Regions from separate parts of the Homo sapiens genome. Here regions 1, 2, 3, 4, 5 and 6 are each linked to region 7. Evidence: promoter capture Hi-C in 16 types of primary human blood cells and fetal thymus (Javierre and others, 2016). All regions are on one chromosome and are shown on one strand. Each heading gives the region's core, a stretch centred on a gene start or on the middle of the fragment in contact. The rest is flanking DNA. Distances are from core to core; before and after follow the strand shown. Region 1 has its middle 13 kb from the start of XPO1. Region 2 overlaps USP34 (ubiquitin specific peptidase 34). Region 3 overlaps XPO1 (exportin 1). Region 4 overlaps XPO1 (exportin 1). Region 5 overlaps USP34 (ubiquitin specific peptidase 34). Region 6 overlaps USP34 (ubiquitin specific peptidase 34). Region 7 holds the start of FAM161A (FAM161 centrosomal protein A).

The links. Contacts are between HindIII fragments. The CHiCAGO score rates a contact against its expected background, and 5 or more counts as called.
Region 1: a contact is called between a fragment that was not itself captured here and the fragment with the promoter of FAM161A in region 7, in 1 of 17 cell types (M1 macrophages). The highest score is 6.8, in M1 macrophages.
Region 2: a contact is called between a fragment that was not itself captured here and the fragment with the promoter of FAM161A in region 7, in 2 of 17 cell types (naive CD8 T cells and naive B cells). The highest score is 5.6, in naive CD8 T cells.
Region 3: a fragment that was not itself captured here is called in contact with the fragment with the promoter of FAM161A in region 7 in 4 of 17 cell types (erythroblasts, megakaryocytes, naive B cells and 1 more); the score reaches 8.3 in erythroblasts.
Region 4: a contact is called between a fragment that was not itself captured here and the fragment with the promoter of FAM161A in region 7, in 1 of 17 cell types (megakaryocytes). The highest score is 5.5, in megakaryocytes.
Region 5: a contact is called between a fragment that was not itself captured here and the fragment with the promoter of FAM161A in region 7, in 1 of 17 cell types (M1 macrophages). The highest score is 5.0, in M1 macrophages.
Region 6: a contact is called between a fragment that was not itself captured here and the fragment with the promoter of FAM161A in region 7, in 1 of 17 cell types (naive CD4 T cells). The highest score is 5.3, in naive CD4 T cells.

Annotation. Positions count from the first base shown.
Region 1 is chr2:61,549,855-61,552,554 of GRCh38, forward strand. No RefSeq gene overlaps it. Among named protein-coding and RNA genes, the nearest start is that of XPO1, 13 kb to the left of the region's middle. The HindIII fragment of the contact is 828 bases long and covers 925-1,752 here.
Region 2 is chr2:61,377,688-61,380,387 of GRCh38, forward strand. USP34 (ubiquitin specific peptidase 34) reads right to left here. Exons shown (of 80, transcript NM_014709.4): 7 at 2,482-2,674; 8 at 676-737. Among named protein-coding and RNA genes, the nearest start is that of SNORA70B, 38 kb to the right of the region's middle. The HindIII fragment of the contact is 1,765 bases long and covers 536-2,300 here.
Region 3 is chr2:61,522,467-61,525,166 of GRCh38, forward strand. XPO1 (exportin 1) reads right to left here. Exons shown (of 25, transcript NM_003400.4): 4 at 145-217. Among named protein-coding and RNA genes, the nearest start is that of XPO1, 15 kb to the right of the region's middle. The HindIII fragment of the contact is 1,322 bases long and covers 651-1,972 here.
Region 4 is chr2:61,489,232-61,491,931 of GRCh38, forward strand. XPO1 (exportin 1) reads right to left here. Exons shown (of 25, transcript NM_003400.4): 17 at 1,411-1,545. Among named protein-coding and RNA genes, the nearest start is that of USP34-DT, 19 kb to the left of the region's middle. The HindIII fragment of the contact is 4,286 bases long and covers 1-2,700 here.
Region 5 is chr2:61,461,436-61,464,135 of GRCh38, forward strand. The region is part of intron 1 of USP34 (ubiquitin specific peptidase 34); the gene reads right to left. Among named protein-coding and RNA genes, the nearest start is that of USP34, 8.3 kb to the right of the region's middle. The HindIII fragment of the contact is 4,536 bases long and covers 1-2,700 here.
Region 6 is chr2:61,418,584-61,421,283 of GRCh38, forward strand. It overlaps USP34 (ubiquitin specific peptidase 34), which reads right to left. Exons shown (of 80, transcript NM_014709.4): 2 at 2,163-2,250. Among named protein-coding and RNA genes, the nearest start is that of SNORA70B, 2.6 kb to the left of the region's middle. The HindIII fragment of the contact is 2,916 bases long and covers 1-2,700 here.
Region 7 is chr2:61,852,801-61,855,500 of GRCh38, forward strand. FAM161A (FAM161 centrosomal protein A) reads right to left here and starts at 1,260. Exons shown (of 7, transcript NM_001201543.2): 1 at 1,059-1,260. The coding sequence starts at 1,241. RefSeq lists enhancers at 744-873, 1,034-1,193, 1,434-1,663, 2,404-2,453. The HindIII fragment of the contact is 5,666 bases long and covers 834-2,700 here.

The sequences.
Region 1 (2,700 bases), core at 89-2,588, 300 kb before region 7:
CAGAAGCATCATTGTTGTGATAGACCAGTAGGCTCAACTCAAGGAAGCTATGGAGAAGAACTAAGAAGATTTTATGAATGACACCAGTATAAACAGTTTCAGCCTCTTCCTCCCTTACCGGGATACAAACCTCCCTATCACATGCAAACTTTTCAGATTTCCAATTGAAAATAGAGTGGGCCAGGAGGCCAAGAAACCCATGCTATACACAGATGAGTCCAAAGGTTTAGAGAGCTCCCATCCACTGACTCTTTCTAGCATTTTCAAAATCCAGGATGGTCCACAATGGCCTGTCTTCTAAGTTCATGCTTCCGCTCCATGGCTAGAAAAGACTGGAGGCAAGTCAATGGAGTTCTTCACCCAGTCATGTACAGTCTTTTCTAGTAGGGTCAGCTCTGATGCTAGAGAAAGATACAAAGAGACAAAAGGTAGTCCTTGAAATAAGTAAGCCTGGGAAAGACCAGCAAGGGGTCGTTGAACGTTTAAACAGCTCTTCATCACCTTTCCATCAAAAGAGTTTACTTGTTCCTAATACCCCATTGAAAATGTAGAATGTGGCCTGTTGGGGCTTCCAGCTTCCTATTATCCTGTTACAGAGCTCAGCACAGCTATCTGGATGCTCTGGCTGAATCCTCGTCATGAGAGATGTGAGTGCCCTTCCATGAACTGGAACCAAGAAGGGAAGAACAAGCCTTCCCTTTCCTTTCTGCCATGGTCTTTTCACACTCCAAAGCAGTTCTCTCCAGAGAGGACCCAGAGGACTGTAGGCAGCCCTAAGGCCATCAGGGGCAACTCCTAGAAGAATTATCTTCTGGTCTCTTCCTTTAGGGAAGCAAAACTGAGGATGAAGCCAGTGTTTTTTCTCCCTTATAGTTTTTCTAATAGATGAATGGTGTGGGTAAGAAGAGTGCTTTCAGGCATTTAAGCTTTAGTGGGACTGAAAGATTTGCAAGTGAAAGATACATTGCCAGGTGAGGGTGGGGGTTAGGGGGAAGGGTAGCTAAGGGAGGAAAAGAGGACCACTAAAGGACCCTAAAGGGTCAAAAAGAGAGCCAGTAAGGAAGACAGAGTAAATGGAGCTTCCAGGACAAACTCTGCCTGTCCTGGAATCTAGAGAAAGAAGTAGAATCACATGCAGATCTAAAAAGGCAACCAGCCGGACGTCATAATGAGGTTCTCGGTAGGAGAGCATGAGAGAATTTGCTTTTATTGGCCCCAGCAAACATGAAACCCCCAAGGTCTTATGCATAACGTAACTTCATTGGTTGTTGAAGGCTCAAGCAAACAACTTATACTGTGGAAATAACTGGCATACAGAAAAACACACAAGATTTACTCAGGGGACAAGAACACCTTTATTTATGAATTCCACATCTATATTTCAAATTCTGCTCCTACAGGGGACATATGACTCTGCAATAACTCCACATGTGGAGAGACAGGTTTGAGCTGTACCAAAAAAAGTGAATTTCACAGGACCAAACAATATTTGTATAAATGCTGCCACATTTTTAAAAAATTGGAGTAGTAAAATGGGACAGAGAAAAATGTTTGGAATCAGAAGATGTGGATTCTCCTCCCAGTTCTGCCCTTATTAGAGCTCTTTGCCATTATGATCAAACTACTAGAAGGTTCCTAAGATCTTTTCTGGCTCAATGATAGTACTTCTGTGTATTCTTTTCTTCTTGAAGATGAAAGCGTATACAGAGAAGTGCAGACATATTTTTTTCACTAGGAATTTTGTGAATGTGAAGCTTAAGGAAGTTTAAGGAAGCATTCTCCATACTAATTCAGTCAATTATTCACTTAAATAATATTTTTTTGAGTCCCACGATGTTTTATGTGCTGTGCTGGGGCTGGGAAGACAATGATTATTTCCATAGGCAGAAAAGGACCAAACAATAACAATGTTTTTTCAATACTTGGATCTATAATAAAGTAATCACACATCGTTTCATAAATTTAATGTTTAGATTTGTTAAAATTTAATTCTTTAAATTTTAAAGTTTTATCCTTAACAACTGGGGGGTTCATTTACTTGTATTGTTGGATTTTTTGTTGTTAAATACCTGGGAGTTGTTATTTATGTATTTATTGATTGATTTATTCTTTGAGACAGGGTCTTACTCTGTCTCCCAGCTGGAGTGCAGTAGCATGATCTTGGCTCACCGCATTCTCTGCCTCCTGGGTCCAAGGGATTCTCATACCTCAGCTTCCCAAGTAGCTGGGATTGCAGGTGTGCACCACCACACCTGGCTAATTTTTTTTTTTTTTTTTTGAGATGGAGTCTTGCTCTGTCTCCCAGGCTGGAGTGCAGTGGTGCCATCTTGGCTCACTGCAGCCTCTGCCCTCAGGGTTCCAGTGATTCTCCTGCCTCAGCCTCCTGAGTAGCTGGGATTACAGGCACATGCCACCACACCCGGCTAATTTTTGTATGTAATTTAGAAATGAGGTTTTGCCATGTTGGACAGGCTGGTCTCGAACACCTGACCTCAGGTGATCCACTTGCCTCGGCCTCCCAAAGTGCTGGGATTACAGGTTTGTGCCACCACACCCAGCCAAATGTTTTAATTTTTAGTAGAGACAGGGTCTCACCATGTTGGCCAGGTTGGTCTCGAACTCCTTACCTCAAGTGATCCATCGGCCTTGGCAAGGCTGGTCTCAAACTCTTGACCTCAATTGATCCACCCACCTTGGCCT
Region 2 (2,700 bases), core at 168-2,667, 470 kb before region 7:
TCCAGAACTATGGGAAATAAATTTCTGTTGTTTATAAGTCATCCAATCTACAGTACTTTGTTACAGCAGCCTGGACTAAGACAGTGTACTTTCTGAAAACTATCAGTACCATATTTTTCAAGACTAAATTCTCCAGTATAAACAGTATGCTTTCATACTGTGACAAATAGTACTATATGTTCGCATACGCTTTTAAAAGAGAGAAATGTGGCCAGACACAGTGGCTCACGCCTGTAATCCCAACACTTTGGGAGACTGAGGCAAGTGGATGGCTTGAGTCTACAAGACTAGACTGAGCAACATGGCAAAACTCTGCCTCTGCAAATATCACAAAAATTAGCCAGGCATGCTGGCATGCGCCTATGGTCCCAGCTATCCGGGAGGCTGAGGTGGGAGGATCACCTGACCCTGGGAACTTGAGGCTGTAGTGAGCCATGGTCCCACCACTGTACTCCACCCTGGGCAACAGAGCAAGACCCTGTCTCAAAAAAAAGAGGGAGAGTGAGTTATGTTACAGACAGCATAATGTTCTGAAAGCTTCATGAAGAACTGTACACAATGTCAAAGGGCAAAGAATTTCTAGTAAAAATTTTAAATCTAAAAATTAGAATTTACCATATAAACAACTGTACATTAAAATGGTATACTTATATATAAATTAATGCTCCTACTTACGTTTCTGTGTCCGATACTAATGATTCATTATTGCACACATCATTGAAGGTATGGAGTTGATTCTATGATTAAAGACAAGAAATTAAGGGTTTTTATTTCCAAAATTATTCTTGCATTTGTCAGCAAATACTAACATGGTAAACTGATTGACATATGTAGATCACAATAACTAGATTAATATTATAAAATCTAAGACATAATCAGAGACACACGCTTCCCAATTACTAAAACTATTTCTGTTATATTAAAATACTAAATAATGGCCAGGCGCAGCGGCTCACACCTGTAATCCCAGCACTTTAGGAGGCCAAGGCAGGTGGATCACCTGAGGTCAGGAGCTCTGAGACCAGCCTTACCAACACAGTAAATCTCCATCTCTATTAAAAATACAAAATTAGCTGGGTATGGTGGCATGCGCCTAAAACGCGAGCTACTCAGAGGCTGAGGCACGAAAATCACTTGAACCCAGGAGGCAGAGGTTGCAGTGAGCCAAGATCGCGCCACTGCACTCCAGCCTGGGCGACAGAGTGAGAGTCCATCTCAAAAAAACGAAAAAAAAAAAAAAAAAAAAAAAACAACACTAAATTCATTCCACAAATAGTATTCTTTATTACACTAAGTGCACTGGAGAAAATAAAGCTGAGTAAGTAAAAAAACACAACAATTTAACGCAAGAGAGCAAGTAATATGTCATTATAGACAAAGTTTCAGGAAAGACTCCCCAGATAAATCCACTCAAGATTTAATTTATCTGGGACAATATCAACAAGTATCTTTTATATTTATGAAACCCGGTACACAAGTAAACTCCACCTATTTCACATTTTCAGTGTGACTACACTACCAAAACAAAACAAAACAAAAACAGTAATGTGGCCAGGTGGGGTGGCTCACGCCTGTAATCCCAACACTTTGGGAGGATGAGGCGGGTGGATCACCTGAGGTCAGGAATTCCAGACCAGCCTGGCCAACACGGTAAAAACCCATCTCTACTAAAAATGCAAAAAATTAGCTGGGTGTTGTGGCGCACACCTGTAGTCCCTGCTACTCAGGAGGCTGAGGCAAGAGCATCGCTTGAACCCAGGAGGTGGAGGTTGCAGTAAGCCGAGATCATGCCATTGCACAACAGAATGGGACTCCATCTCCAAGAAAAACCAAAAAACAAAACAAAACAAAACAAAAACCCAGAAATGTAAAGGAGTAAAGCAAATGGGGACTGCAACAAACCGGAGAAAGCATATTCATTCTGAGGGATAAAGTTAATTACTTAGTTCTAACAGACTGTTGTTATGCAAGAATACAGACCCAAGAATACCAGGCCTTCTTCCAACCCCCTCACCAAGAGAAGCCAAGAATACAGATTTTCATGTTACTTTGTCCTATTTAAAAACAGTATTTAAGACTATTCAAAACAAACATTTAGTAAAATTTGGCCTACGGCCCAATAATCTATGGTTTCTGCCTGGAAAATTAATTAACTGCTTATAAAGCCCTCCAATTATTCCTCTTTCTCAAAACATCTATAAACATAAAAACCTAAATAGTTTAAAAAGACAGAAACAAAATGATGAAAGAGTTGGACCCGGAAATCAAATGGACCCACAGTATAAATCCATATAAATCTAAGCTTCAGACTTATTTAAAATAAGAGAAACACAGAAATTATTTGTGAAGACCATATAAAGTAATCCACATAAAATACTTAGCACAATGCCTAGTATGAAGTGCTCCATAAATAGTGGGTAGTATTATGATAGACCAGAAAACAAATAAACGATGACCAAAAATAAAACAAATACAGCTTACTGTTATCTGACTCAATCCAGCCAACCTCATAGTCAAAGTAGGTGACATAAAGTACTTAAATGCAAGATCTAGGCTTTCTTTATCAAAGCATAATGTTGTATCCAATGGTTCTTTGACTGTGCTCCACATTAAGTCAGCCATGTTACGAGCTGCACTCTGTCGTAACTCCTGATCCGAGAGCTTGCATAAATACCTGAAATGATTCAGAAATAGAAAATA
Region 3 (2,700 bases), core at 62-2,561, 330 kb before region 7:
ACCTGTTTGCTTCATGATAAAAGCAATAAGCTCCATTAGAGCAAAATATACTAAAGATTCATTACATGCCCCCTCAAACAGTCAACTACAATAAAAATGCCAGGAAAAACAAAACTCTGAATTTATAATTCTTTATTTTCCTACCTTCGCACTGGTTCCTTGGAAGAATCTTCCACCTTGTTTTTATCACATTTTCCAAAATTTGTAGTCCATAGTACTGAAAATTGGAGAATAGAAGCATGTGAATATATTGCTTATAGGACTGGCAACTCTCAGGATTCACAAATGGACAGACATTCACACATTTACATCTAAAGTTTCAAAAACATTATGCTACCAAGTTTAATTACACATATTAAACAAGTATCTATTCACCCATATACTGAGTTTTCATGCATTTTCCTCATTTTATTGTTTGCTACTCTATATAACGTCCTGCTGTTTATACATGCTCACACCAGGAGGAAGAACCAAATAAAAAGCCCTTTAGCAGCCAAATAGGCTTATCTGTCGAAGGAAAAGTAGCAGCCAGATATGAATTCACAGCATAAATGACTGCTCATAGGCTCACGTACTTTAACACGAACAGGCTCCTAAGAATTTAGCAGCTTGGATGCTATCAAGCTTCCTACCATCCTCTAGGAGTTATAAGCTTTTGGCCAAATATTAAAGTATTGTCACAGATACTTTCTATAGAAAGTGTTTACAAGCATCACTGGTGTGTTACTTAAGGAGCAGCAAGACAACCCATGGGTTTATTTTATATTTTAACCCCACCCTTATAGTTGCTATTTCTACTAATTTAAAGATAAACTTTTGTGCACAGTCAAAATAATCACAAACGCATGTTGCAATCTGTATCTACCTTTCAGGTATTTCTTCCTAAATACTGAAAGTTATAACTAAAAGTATAAAAAATTAAAAAACAGAGATACCACTTTCAAGCCATTTTGTCCCTCCTGCTGATTACTCACTCTAAATAGTCAACAATATTTATAATAATTTATAAAGCCCCAGGAGTTACTACCTGAATTACTATGACCAATTAGTGTGGATAGGCAGGAGGAAGAAAAGGGACAAAACCGTTGTGGTACATTTCAACTGAGAGAATTAGGGAAGAATCAGCTATAATATCTGAAAGGTAAGCTCATTCATATATAGACATATAACCTCAGATTGCAAGTTTTGGCTGAGAATAAGAGTTCATCTTTAAAATGGTTAGTCATTACACAATAAAATAGGAGCATTAGTATTTCAACCAAAGGGATCATGTGAATGCTCATTTTATCCAAAGCACAATATAGACTGTCCCAAACTACATTGTGCTCAAACAGTGAATGTTTTTGCTGTTTTCTTTCATTTTAACATTTCACACTCTTCAAGAAAATTTTGCCATTTCAACTAAAGTACTACATTTGCAGAACATTCCTTAAAAACTTTCAAAATAAAAACAAGGCCAAAGCAAAATTCTAAAATTACAAATTTGATGCTATTAAAATGTTTCATAATCAGCAGTAAATAGTGATGCTTTCTAACCTGTTCACTTTTAAAAACATATCTATTTATTATGTCTAGGTCTGAGAAATATGTAAAAAAAAGAGAGTTGTCCAAATGCCTGAAGTTCTTAATTAGCTTTTAAAAACATACTACCCTAAGCATTTTCTTTAATTTTATAGGCACAAAATCAGATTGTCAAGACTCAGTAAGTCAAAGCAATGCACTGCTTACAATATATCCTCTTGCCAAAAATCAATTAAAAAGCCTTTAAAACACTAAGAAACAAAACCCACCATAAATATAGTTACAAATAAAAATCTTAAAGATAACTTCATCTTATTTAACCAAACTTTTTTACATTTTTAATGGAAAGACACTGTCCTTTCTTTTTTATTTACTTCTTCCTATTTGATACTGTTACCTAAAATTACTATTTACTAACCTGTATTTTCTACAACTGTATAAAGGTAGCATAAGCTTGATGAAGATACAATTCATATTTCATCTTTCTGCCAAGGGGGTTGAAGCAGGGAGCCCAATAAATGCTTTGCCCAGGTTAGGTCAAAGGAATACATCTGTTACTATAATATCCTAAAATCCAATCTCTCCCAGACATAAAGACTTTGCCTATGAAACTAAAACAAAAAAAATTTACATTCCTTTGAAAAAATGTTATTTGGGGCCAGGCAAAGTGGCCCTCGCCTGTAATCCCAACATTTTGGGGAGGCCAAGGCGGGAGGGCCAGGAGTTCAAGATCAGCCTGAGCAACACAGGGAGACCCCACTTCTATAAAAAAATTGGTAAGTTAGCGAGGCATGGTGACACGCACCTGTAGCCCTAGCTACTCAGAAAGTTGAGGCAGAAATGTCACTTAAGCCCAGGAGTTTGAGGTTACAGTGAGCTATAATCACACCACTGCACTCCAGCCTGGGCAACAGAGGTCCTGTCTCTTCAAAGAATTTTTTTTCTTTTTTTTTTTAGTATTTTTGCTCAAAAATCTGAAGTGACAGTCAAATCTGAAAGCCAATGATAAATCACTACAATCCAAACATTCTGAAGAATTATACTTTTGCCTTACATCTCCAAACTTGAGAAATCCACTGCTGAGTTATGAAGATGAGGGACAGATAACAGCAAAGACTAAATGAAAAAATAAATGCATGAAATGATCCCTATGGTAGAAATTTCTACTGAGCCCTTAGA
Region 4 (2,700 bases), core at 70-2,569, 360 kb before region 7:
GGAGAAACCCTGTCTCTACTAAAAATACAAAATTAGCCAGGCACAATGGTGCTTGCTTGTAATCCCAGCCACTTGGGAGGCTGAGGCAGGAGAACTGCTTGAGCTCGGGAGGCAGAGGTTGCAGTGAGCCGAGATCACGCCATTGCACTCCAGCCCGGGCACCAAGAGTGAAACTCCATCTCAAAAAAAAAAAAAATCCACATAATTACCAAAGCAAAAGCCATTACGCTTCCCTTACCCTAAACCATATTTATAATCCCAAATGGTAAAAACGAACACAAACGCCTTTTTGTCTACATCTACTTAAGAATGAAGTAATATAGTTCTATTTTTTTTTTTTTGGGACGGAGTCTCGTTCTGTTGCCCAGGCTAGAGTGCAGCGGCGTGATCTCGGCTCACTGCAAGCTCTGCCTCCCAGGTTCACGCCATTCTCCTGCCTCAGCCTCCTGAGTAGCTGGGACTTACAGGCGCCCGCCGCCACACTCAGCTAATTTTTGTATTTTTAGTAGAGACAGGGTTTCACTGCGTTAGCCATGATGGTCTCGATCCCCTGACCTGGTGATCCGCCTGCCTCGGCCTCCCAAAGTGCTGGGATTACAGGCATGAGCCACCACACCCAGCCTATTCCTATTTTAATATCAAATGAGAATGGAAATTACAGTATTTTTTTTTTTTTTTGAGACAGAGTCTTCCTCTGTCACCAGGCTGGAGTGCAGTGGCATGCTCTTGACTCACTGCAAGCTCCGCCTCCTGGGTTCAAGCCATTCTCCTGGCTCAGCCTCCCGAGTAGCTGGGATTACAGGCGCCCACCACCATGCCTGGCTAATTTTTGTATTTTTAGTAGAGACGGGGTTTCACCACGTTGGCCAGGATGGTCTCAATCTCCTGACCTAGTGATCCACCCGTCTCGGTCTCCCAAAGTGCTGGGATTACAGGCGTGAGCCACCGAGCCCGGCCCAGATTTTTCATTTATTTTTTTTTTTTTGAGACAGAGTCTTGCTCTGTCGTCTCGGCTAGAGAACAGTAGCTCAATCTCGGCTCACTGCAACCTCTGCCTCTTGGGTTCAAGTGATTCTCCTGCCTAAGCCTCCTCAGTAGCTGGGATTACAGGCATGTGCAACCACGCCCAGCTAATTTTTGTATTTTTAGTAGAGACGGGGTTTTGCCATGTTGGCCAGGCTGATCTCGAACTTCTGGCCTCAGGTGATCCGCCCGCCTCGGCCTTCCAATGTGCCAGGATTACAGGCGTGAGCCACCACACCTCGCCCAGATAATAAATTATAGAAAGACACACATAAAAGCACTTATGGATCACACATACATGTTAAAAGGCTTGAATTCAATACATTTGTAAAGAACACGTCTTGTTAAATCCCATGAAAACTTTTAAGAAAAGGTAGAAATACTTACTTTGGTTGCCTGCTGGATTATACTATCCCACACTTGATTAGGGAGTAACATGTACTTTTCTATCAAGTGTTCTTGTACTGTTTGATCTGTTTGTGCACCAATCATGTACCCCACAGCTTCATAAAACGTATGAACCTATTTTAAAAAGCAGACATTTTAACGTTTATGTTATACACCCTAATAAGGAAAACCACACACAAGCAATTCACAAACGTCTTGAAACTGATTTTGGCCCAGGTGCAGTGGATCACTCCTGTAATCCCAATACTTTGAGAAGCCAAGGCAGGCCAATCACTTGTGGTCAGGAGTTGCAGACCAGCCTGACCAACGTGGTGAAACCCCATCTCTTCTACAAATACAAAGAAATTAGCCAAGCGTGGTGGCAGGTGCCTATAATTCCAGTTACTTGGGAGGTTTGAATTGCTTGAACCTGGGAGGCAGAGGTTGCAGTGAGCCGAGATTGCAATACTGCACTCGAGCCTGGGTGACAGAGGAAGACTCCACCTCAAAAAACAAACAAACAAACAACCCAAACTGGCCAGGCATGGTGGTGGCTCACGCCTGTAATCCCAGCACTTTGGGAGGCCGAGGCGGGCGGATCATGAGGTCAGGAGTTGGAGATGAGCCTGACCAACATGGAGAAACCCCGTCTCTACTAAAAATAAAAAAATTAGCTGGGCGTGGTGGCAAGCACCTGTTAATCATAGCCACTGAGGAAGAGAATCGTTTGACCCCAGGAGGCAAGGCTGCAGTGAGCCGAGATTGCGCCACTGCACTCCAGCATGGACGACAGAGTGAAACTCCATCTCAAAAAACAAACACACACACACACACACACACACACACACACACACACCCCAAAACAAAACAAAACAAAAAACACCTGATTTTGTTTGTTCGGAATAATTTTACATAGGACAACAGCCTAACAATCTTCTGGTCAAGAATCTGTCTCACTATGAAAATTTAACCAGGCTGGGCGTGGTGGCTCACACATATAAAATCATTTTGGGAGGCTGAGGCAAGCGTATCGCTTGAAGCTAGGAGTTCAAGACCAGCCTGGGCCACTTGGCAAAACCCCATCTCTACCAAGGGGGGGAAAAAGGTTAGCTGAGTGTGATGGCAGTGCATGCCTGTAGTCCCAGCTACCCACGAGGCCAAGGTGGGAGGATCACCTGAGCCTGGGAGTTCAAGGCTGCAGTGAGCCGTAATTGTGCCACTGCACTCAAGCCTGGGCAACAGAGTAAGACCCTGTCTCAAGGAAAAAAGAAAGAAAATTTAATCAGAAAC
Region 5 (2,700 bases), core at 85-2,584, 390 kb before region 7:
ACAGAAAAAAAAACATACAATTCATTAAATAACAAAAATATGAATGGTTAAATTTACTAGTAATTGCTTAATACATTCTCTACCAAAATAACTTTTATTTTAAGAGATGAAGTCTTGCTATGTTGCCCAGGCTAGCCTTGAATTCCAGGGCTCAAGTGATCCTCCCACCTCAGCCTCCTGAGTAGCTGGGAATACTACAGGCACACATCACCATGCCCTGCTAAAATAACACTTTCTAAAGGATAATATTCAAGACAGGTGAAAGTGCCCTTACACAGGCACGACTACGACTAAAAGATCAATATATCCTTTCTGGCAAGCAAACAGTATGAAAATAATGAAAAATGTTTATATTTTTTGACACAGTAAACTCACGTCTAGAAATCTAAAAGAACCAGGGATGTAGATAAAAGATTTAAGTAGAAAGATGTACATTTGCGGCATTATTCATAATATGGGAGAACTGGAAACAGATATATTAAATTTTATATAAAATGAAATCTTATACAAAAACATGTTTTCAGCCAGACGCGGTGGCTCACACCTGTAGTCACAGCATTTTAGGGGGCCGAGGTGGGCAGATCATGAGGTCAGGAGTTCAAGACCAGCCTGGCCAACATGGTGAAACCTCATCTCTACTAAACGTAACAAAAATTAGTCAGGCATGGTGGCAGTTGCCTGTAATCACAGCTACCCAGGAGGTTGAGGCAGGAAAATCGCTTGAACCCGGGAGGCGGAGGTTGCAGTGAGCCAAGATCAGGCCATCGCACTCCAGCCTGGGGCAACAGAACAAGACTCCATCTCAGGGGGAAAAAAAAAAAAAAGAAAATCAGCCAGGCGTGGTGGCTCATGCCTGTAATCCCAGCAGTTTGGGAGGCCGAGGTGGGTGAATCACTTGAGGCTAGGAGTTTGAGAACAGCCTGGGCAAAACAGTGAAGCCCCATTCCTACAAAAAACACAAATATTAGCTGGGCATGGTGGTACGCACCTGTAATCCCAGCTACTTGGGAAGCTGAGGCAGGAGAATTGCTTGAACCCAGGAAGAGGAGGTTGAAGTGAGCCAAGATCATGCCACTGCACTCCAGCCTGGGCCACAGAGTAAGACTCCGTCTCCAAAAAAAAAAAAAAAATCAATTCAGGAGAACCGGACAAAGTAGCTCACACCCTGTAATCCCAGCACTCTGGGAGGCTGAGGCAAGCGGATCACTTGAGGCCAGGAGTTTGAGACCAGCCTGACCAACATGGCGAAACCCCATCTCTACTAAATATACAAAAATTAGCCCGGCATGATGGCACATGCCTATAATCCCAGCTACTTGGGAGGGTGAGGCACAAGAACTGCTTGAGCCCCCCAAGGCAGAGGGTGCAGTGAGCCGAGACTGTACCAATGCACTCCAGCCTGGGAGACAGAGGGAAACTGTTTCCCAAAAAAAAAAAAAAAAAGGCAGCCAGGTGTGCTGGTATACACACCTATAGTCCCTGCTACTCAGGAGGGTGAGACAGGAAAATCACTTGAGCCCAGGAGGTCAAGTTATAGTAAGCAATAATCACTTCATTGCACTCCAGCCTGGATGACAGAATAAGACTCCATCTCCAAAGGGGGGAAAAAAATTCCAACTTTAGATTAAATGTCTACTGAAAAAGTTATGTTACTAATTGATTTCGTACCTATATACTCATAGTATCTAAAAAGCTCTGGAAACATGTAGTTTTATTAAACGGTTCACTGCAGAATAACAGTATTAAGAAAGATTCTCAGCCGGGTACAGCATACCCCAACACTTTGGGAGGCTGAGGCAGGAGCATCACTTGAGCCCAGGAGCTTGAGGCTGCAGTGAGCTATAATTGGGCCACTGCACCCCAGCATGGGTGATACACTGTCTCTTAAAAAATAATCAAAAATCAAAAAATTTGAAATTTTATTCAATGAAAAAGATTCTTATTCAGCTATACTTATTACCACTTTTGAATTCCTACTACAATTATCACAGAAATTTGTCTGAATTTTTGAAGATACATAAAACACGGTCAGTAATTTTCACTTTGCCAACTGAACAGTGGTGATTCAGATAGATCATCATAAAATTTATACAATGTTAACTAGTAAGAACTTTTAGGCCAGGCAGGATGGCTCACACCCCTAAACCCAACACTTTGGGAGGCCAAGGGAGGCGGATTACCTGGGGTCAGGAATTCAAGACCATCCTGGCCAACATGGTGAAACCCCACATCGACTAAAATTACAAAAATTAGCCAGGCATGGTGGTGCATGCCTGTAATCCCAGCTACTCAGGAGGCTGAGGCAGGAGAATCGCTTGAACCCAGGAGGCGGAGGTTGCAATGAGCCGAGATCATGCCATTGCACACCAGCCTGGGCAACAGGAACAAAATTCCTTTTCAAAAAAAAAAAAAACTCTTAGCCTAATCTGGGATTAAGTCCTGTGGTTCCACCAAACAGTCACATGTGACCCTAAGCAAGTCACATAAATTCTCTAAACCTTAGTTCCCTCATCTGAAAAGGATGACAGAGTACCTCCCTCAAAGAACTGATTAAATCAGCAGCATGCAAAGCATGTAAAGTACTTAAGTACCCAACACAAACTATTCAATAAAGTAATCTGCTTTAAAAATAAAACACACTGAAAGGCCGAGGCAGGTGGATCACCTGACATCATTAGTTCAAGACCAGTGTGGCCAAAC
Region 6 (2,700 bases), core at 98-2,597, 430 kb before region 7:
AGAATGCATTTTGCAGATTATCCATGCTTTATTAGTACCTGTTTATCCGCTAATTAGAACGACAATCTTAATCTAGGCCACAATATTTTCTGAAGCTCAAGAAAATAATTTAGGGGAGGAAGAGAGGAAGATGGAAATAGACAAATTTTCACTACAAGGCACTGTGATCTAACTATTTTTACCTGTTCTCCCTTCTATCAGCACAATTAAGAGTATGCACAATTAAGAGTATAACATTCCACTTTTATTACTACGAGCTAACAACTGTTCATACTTACTGACAGGTGAACAAAATTACAAATTATTCAATGTTCTCCAGCTTAGCTTTCATACTTTAGCTTACATCTTTTAATTTATATTTCATTTTCCAAAACAAATTTTAACAATTTTAATTAAAATATGTGTTTATTAAGTCCTTTTAGCAAATACAGTGCTAAGCACTTTGTTTTCTTACAATCTCATTAAGACAGTAGTAGCTTTATTATTATTCTATTTCCACCAATGAGGAAATGAGAGTTTACAGAACTTAACTCATTTGTCATCATCACTCGTTCACAGGTGATGAAGCAGGACTAGAATCCATGTCTATCTAGATCCAAGGCCACTTTTTTTTTTTAAATAGAGATGGGGTCTCGCCCTGTAGCCCAGGCTGGTCTCGAACTCCTAGGCTCAAGTGATCCTCCACCTCAGCCTCTCAAAAGTGAGAGGCATGAGCCACCACACCCGGCCAGGCCACACTCTTCTTAACCACTACATTCTAGGGCAACATGAGATAAACCACAGGCTCTCGGTGGTTTGGAGGCAAACACTTTGATATTCTGATGAGACCTAAGAATTACTGCCTAAAACTGCACATATGAAAATCTCCTTTATAATTTCATTCCCATCCACAGACTCTTGGTTAAAAATTCTTAATACAGGGATTAAAAATAAGCTAGAATACAAGTGTATTAGGAATGGGAACATATAACTCCCACCCCATCTCTACCAATAACTAGTGATGAGATTTTAGGAGAATGATTTTGTTTCTCTGGATTTCATTTTATTCAGTGGCAAACTTATAGATCCTGAAATCAGAAGTGTAGATTTTTTTCCTAGTATAACATGTTGCCACCTAGCTGTAGTTACAATAATTAAAACTCAAGATTATGACTCAGACACAACATTTCTCAGCAAATCATTGTGGACTATTAAAGTTCATCTTCAATCATAAACATATTAGTATTATGCAATATTCATCTAGTCCATCCCTAATGCAACAGCAACCACTCCTAAACTTACTGAAATTCAGTGAGACTCAGAAAAGAAATGTCAATAATGATGGTACAGAATGTTTACATAAATAAAATCTACAAAGTCTTTTGCAACAAGTATATCTGCCAACTCTACTGAGAGAGGAAAAAAGGATATTACCATAGAGCAAATGTTATTTGAAGTTAAACTACTCAGCTAAACTCTATGTTCAGCTAGACTGTATACCTCAGAACATTCATTTATGTATCACTGCATTTAACATGTTCATTGGCTACTGCACACAATGCTTCAAACATTCTTACCCATAAAATTTTTTAGAAGGACTAAGTTTAAGTTAAAGTAATTTTTATTTTCATTGGTTTATTCAAGGGAAAAAAATTATTAGCAAAGACTAGTTAAAATCACATTGAGGAACAGGAATCCTTTTTATAAACTTTGATTATATTAACATGTTTTCCTAAAATTTTATTTCCTATAGTCTCAATATATGTATTATTTAGAAATTGGTCTAATACACATAATTATAGAAACGGAACAGATATTAAGTGGCTTAAAAGTATCCCCTACCACAATGACTTTTCTTTTTTAAGGATTAAGATTGTTACAAGCCTTTAGCTATACCATAAAAATTATTTAATCTCTCAAAATAGTTACTTTTCAGAATTTCTGTGACTCTCATATCCCTAAATAAGCAGGGGTCAAAGAAAGAAACTGATATTTATGCCCATGTTTTAAAAACAGAATCATGATCGACCTCATGAGTAAAGATTTAATAAATATTGACAAACTGTCATTTAGTAACTAATGGTATCTAACCCAACACCCTAAAAAGAAAATGTGACAATAAAAATCGCAACTTATAACACAACTCACAAAAATTAGTCTTCGAAATACCTAAAGATGCATACCTCTGTGTCCAGGAATTGATATAAGTAAATATTTTGAGAGTATGTTCCTTTCTGAGCTGCAGTCCATCACCACCTTCTACATCTGATACTGAAATAAAAAAGAAATTTTAAAATTATGAATAATGCTAAACCAGTATTAAAGCCAACAGTTCAAAATAAAGCCAAGAGCTACAAATGCAAACATTTCAGATAATCATTCTTTTGCTTCCAAAGAAAATAAGTCTACTTTTAATTAATAACTCATATGGACTTAAGAACAGATTTTTGACAGATGTAAGGGGTGGGGGGGGCAGTGAGACTTTGCCACTTATTCTGGGATTATCTCTCATCTCCAAAACCAGCCTTCCGTTGTGATGCTGAGGCTGGGACCATGCAATCTACATTTTTCATTTCCAGCTGTCTTCCTGTTAAGATCTTGTTCTCCAGTGCCTATAGGGTACTAGAAGAAGAAGGCAGGAGGAGAGACCAAAGACTTGTCAGCTTGCTATATCTGAAAGCAGCAGCACTGATTCCAGCCTCCAGCTTAGTATTCCAAGAA
Region 7 (2,700 bases), core at 10-2,509:
AGAGATCAGAATTCCAAAATATCCAGTGATTTCAGTTAGTCCTCAATCATAAGTTTGGTGTCTGAGAAGCTTTGGACACATGGTATTAGGAAATTTTTTCTATCTGCAGATTGCTAGTTTAAATTCAAGATTCCCATCTTTTTTTTTTTTTTTTTTTTTTGAGACTGGGTCTGAGATCTCAGCTCACTGCAACCCTCACCTCCCAAGTTCAAGCGATTCTCCTGCCTCAGCCTTCCGAGTAACTAGGATTACAGGGGCGCACCACCACGCCCGGCTAAATTTTGTATTTTTAGTACAGACGGGGTTTCACCATGTTGGTCAGGCTGGTCTCGAACTCCTGACCTCGTAACCCGCCCACCTCGGCCTCCCAAAGTGCTGGGATTATAGGCACGAGCCACCGCGCCCGGCCAAGATTCCCATCTTTTAAGTGAATTGAGCAGATGGCAGACCCTGCCCTCTACCTGCTGGACTGGTGTCCACAACAGATTTAACAATGAAAACTGATCAGTGAAAAGGCCGTCTCGCTGTACCCTAAAGAGCTGTTTAGGAAACACTGAAACCTCAGTGATTTGCTTATCTGTATCCGTGTCTGATTTAGCCAGTGAACACGTGATGGTTTTAAACACACATCTTTAGAGCACTATGTTGAGATCCGCTTATAACCAAGATCTTAAGGTAATAACGAAACACACCTGACAGAACAGTTTTCCTCAAATTACTATATATAGCCAGATATATCTCTATATATCCATTCCCGAGATGCTGGAGAGTAGAGAGTAAAATTCTATACTTTGCACTTGCCAGAAGCAGAGTAACATAAATGTTGTCTAGGAAGCTTTTACAACAGACTGGTGAAAATTAAAACACTTTTCAACGCCTCGATTTAGAGTAATTTTCGTGAGCGTAGAGAAGGGGCTGGGCCAGGACCACCAAGTAGGGACTATGTGCACAGGGACCCGCGTTTACCAGCCTGCCCTCAGCTGGGCGGGGAACCGGACAGCCCTCAGCCTGCACCCAGCCCATGCGAGGTCCCAGCCCAAGTCCCGCCCCAGTATTACCGATGCCCCAGCGGGCTGAGCCACTTTCTCCTCCTCTTCGTCCTCCAAGATCGCCTCCGCTGCCGCCAGGGCCTTTAAGGGGTCTTCGCGTTCGTACTGGGCGACCCGCGCTCCAGTGATGGGATTTACCGGGGTCTGGAGACTGGAGGCCACCAGCTTCGCCACTCGGTGGGAGGTGGCCATCGCCCCGCCTCCGAGGCCTGAGCGCCTGCGCTGGCCCGGGACGGGAAAGCTGGTGCGGCCCCTGGCAACCCGGGGGCGCCTAGCTAGGGAGCCGGTTGCTATGGGCGCCGTAACTGGGGACGCTACAGGAGCCGCCAGGGACCAAAAGTCACGCAAAATCCACTCAGGCTGCCAGAGACCCGAGTCGGGTGCTTACTGGATCATGGCAGTCAGTACCGAGTCTGTTGGCTGGTTCCGAAGGTTGGCAGGCTGAACAGGGCACTTATTCCACTCCTTTGCGTCTAACCGCCTGAACGCAGACTTCTCACATTATACAATGAAACAACTGCTTTTGTGAAGAAAAGAACGCTTTTTTATTAACTGCAATAACATGTTAGAAGGAGACAGTTGATGGAGGAGACGGCGGCGGCGGAGGAAAGCAGGGCGTGTTACTGGGTGGCGGTCTCAGAAGAGTGACAAGGTTGGCGTCCCGCTACCTAACATGTCTCCCGCGGGGGCCAGAGTGGGAAGGAGGGCGGTACATTCTACTCTGATTGACTTGAGGGCTAGCAGGAATCCACCAATCAGAAGGAGGCTCCCAGTTGTCCCTCTCGCTTTTTTCTTGACATGACCAATAAAAGCCCAGAGTTGGGTGGCGCCTGACCCTCCCACTAATGAGTGATAGTGCAGGTATTGTAAACCTGGCGTTTGCTTTGGGTTCTTCAGCTTGAGAGTGACAGGATTGAACGGCACAAGTGCCCAAGAGTCACCACAGACACATCCATCTCCCTCATCCGTATCTTCTCTTCCCACTCGGGATTTGGACGCATCAAATGGCGCCTTCCCTCTGCACCACGTGGCAGTAAGAGAAGCCAAACCTCAAAATAGCGGACGTGGTGCAGTCTCAGACATCTGCTCCCTGAGCCCCTGCTTACTGAGGCCGAGGCTGCCGCCCCCTATCTACTCCCTATCTACCCCCTCTCTATCCTTTGCCCTCCTCCTGCTCCCCAGCCCTACGACCGGCCCCCTCCGGTCAGTATTTTCCTCGTTATGCGCTGCACATCGTCGAGAACCCGTCTCTAAGGTCTGAGCCCTTACCAAACCTTTGTTCTCCTGTCTGGGTGTGAGCACCTACAAAGTCTCCTACGTCCCCACTTCCTTCAGGCTGCTCTTGGTTTTAGCTGAACAGTTGCTTCCCATGCTGGAACAGATGCTGACTGGGTTCTAAGCAGAAGCCAGAGCCAGAACCATGAGATATGCACCGCCAGGTGTGGCCAAGTTTCCAGGGGAGCAATTTCCAGTCAGACACGGCAGCCAGTTTTGTGGCTACAAAACTGCCTCAGCCTCCGGAGTAGCTGGGATTACAGGCGCACTCCCGGGAGGCGGAGGTTGCAGTGAGCCGGGATGGCGCCACTGCACTCCAGCCTGGGCAATAAAGCAAGACTCCGTCTCACCACCACCACCACCAACAAAAGTATTG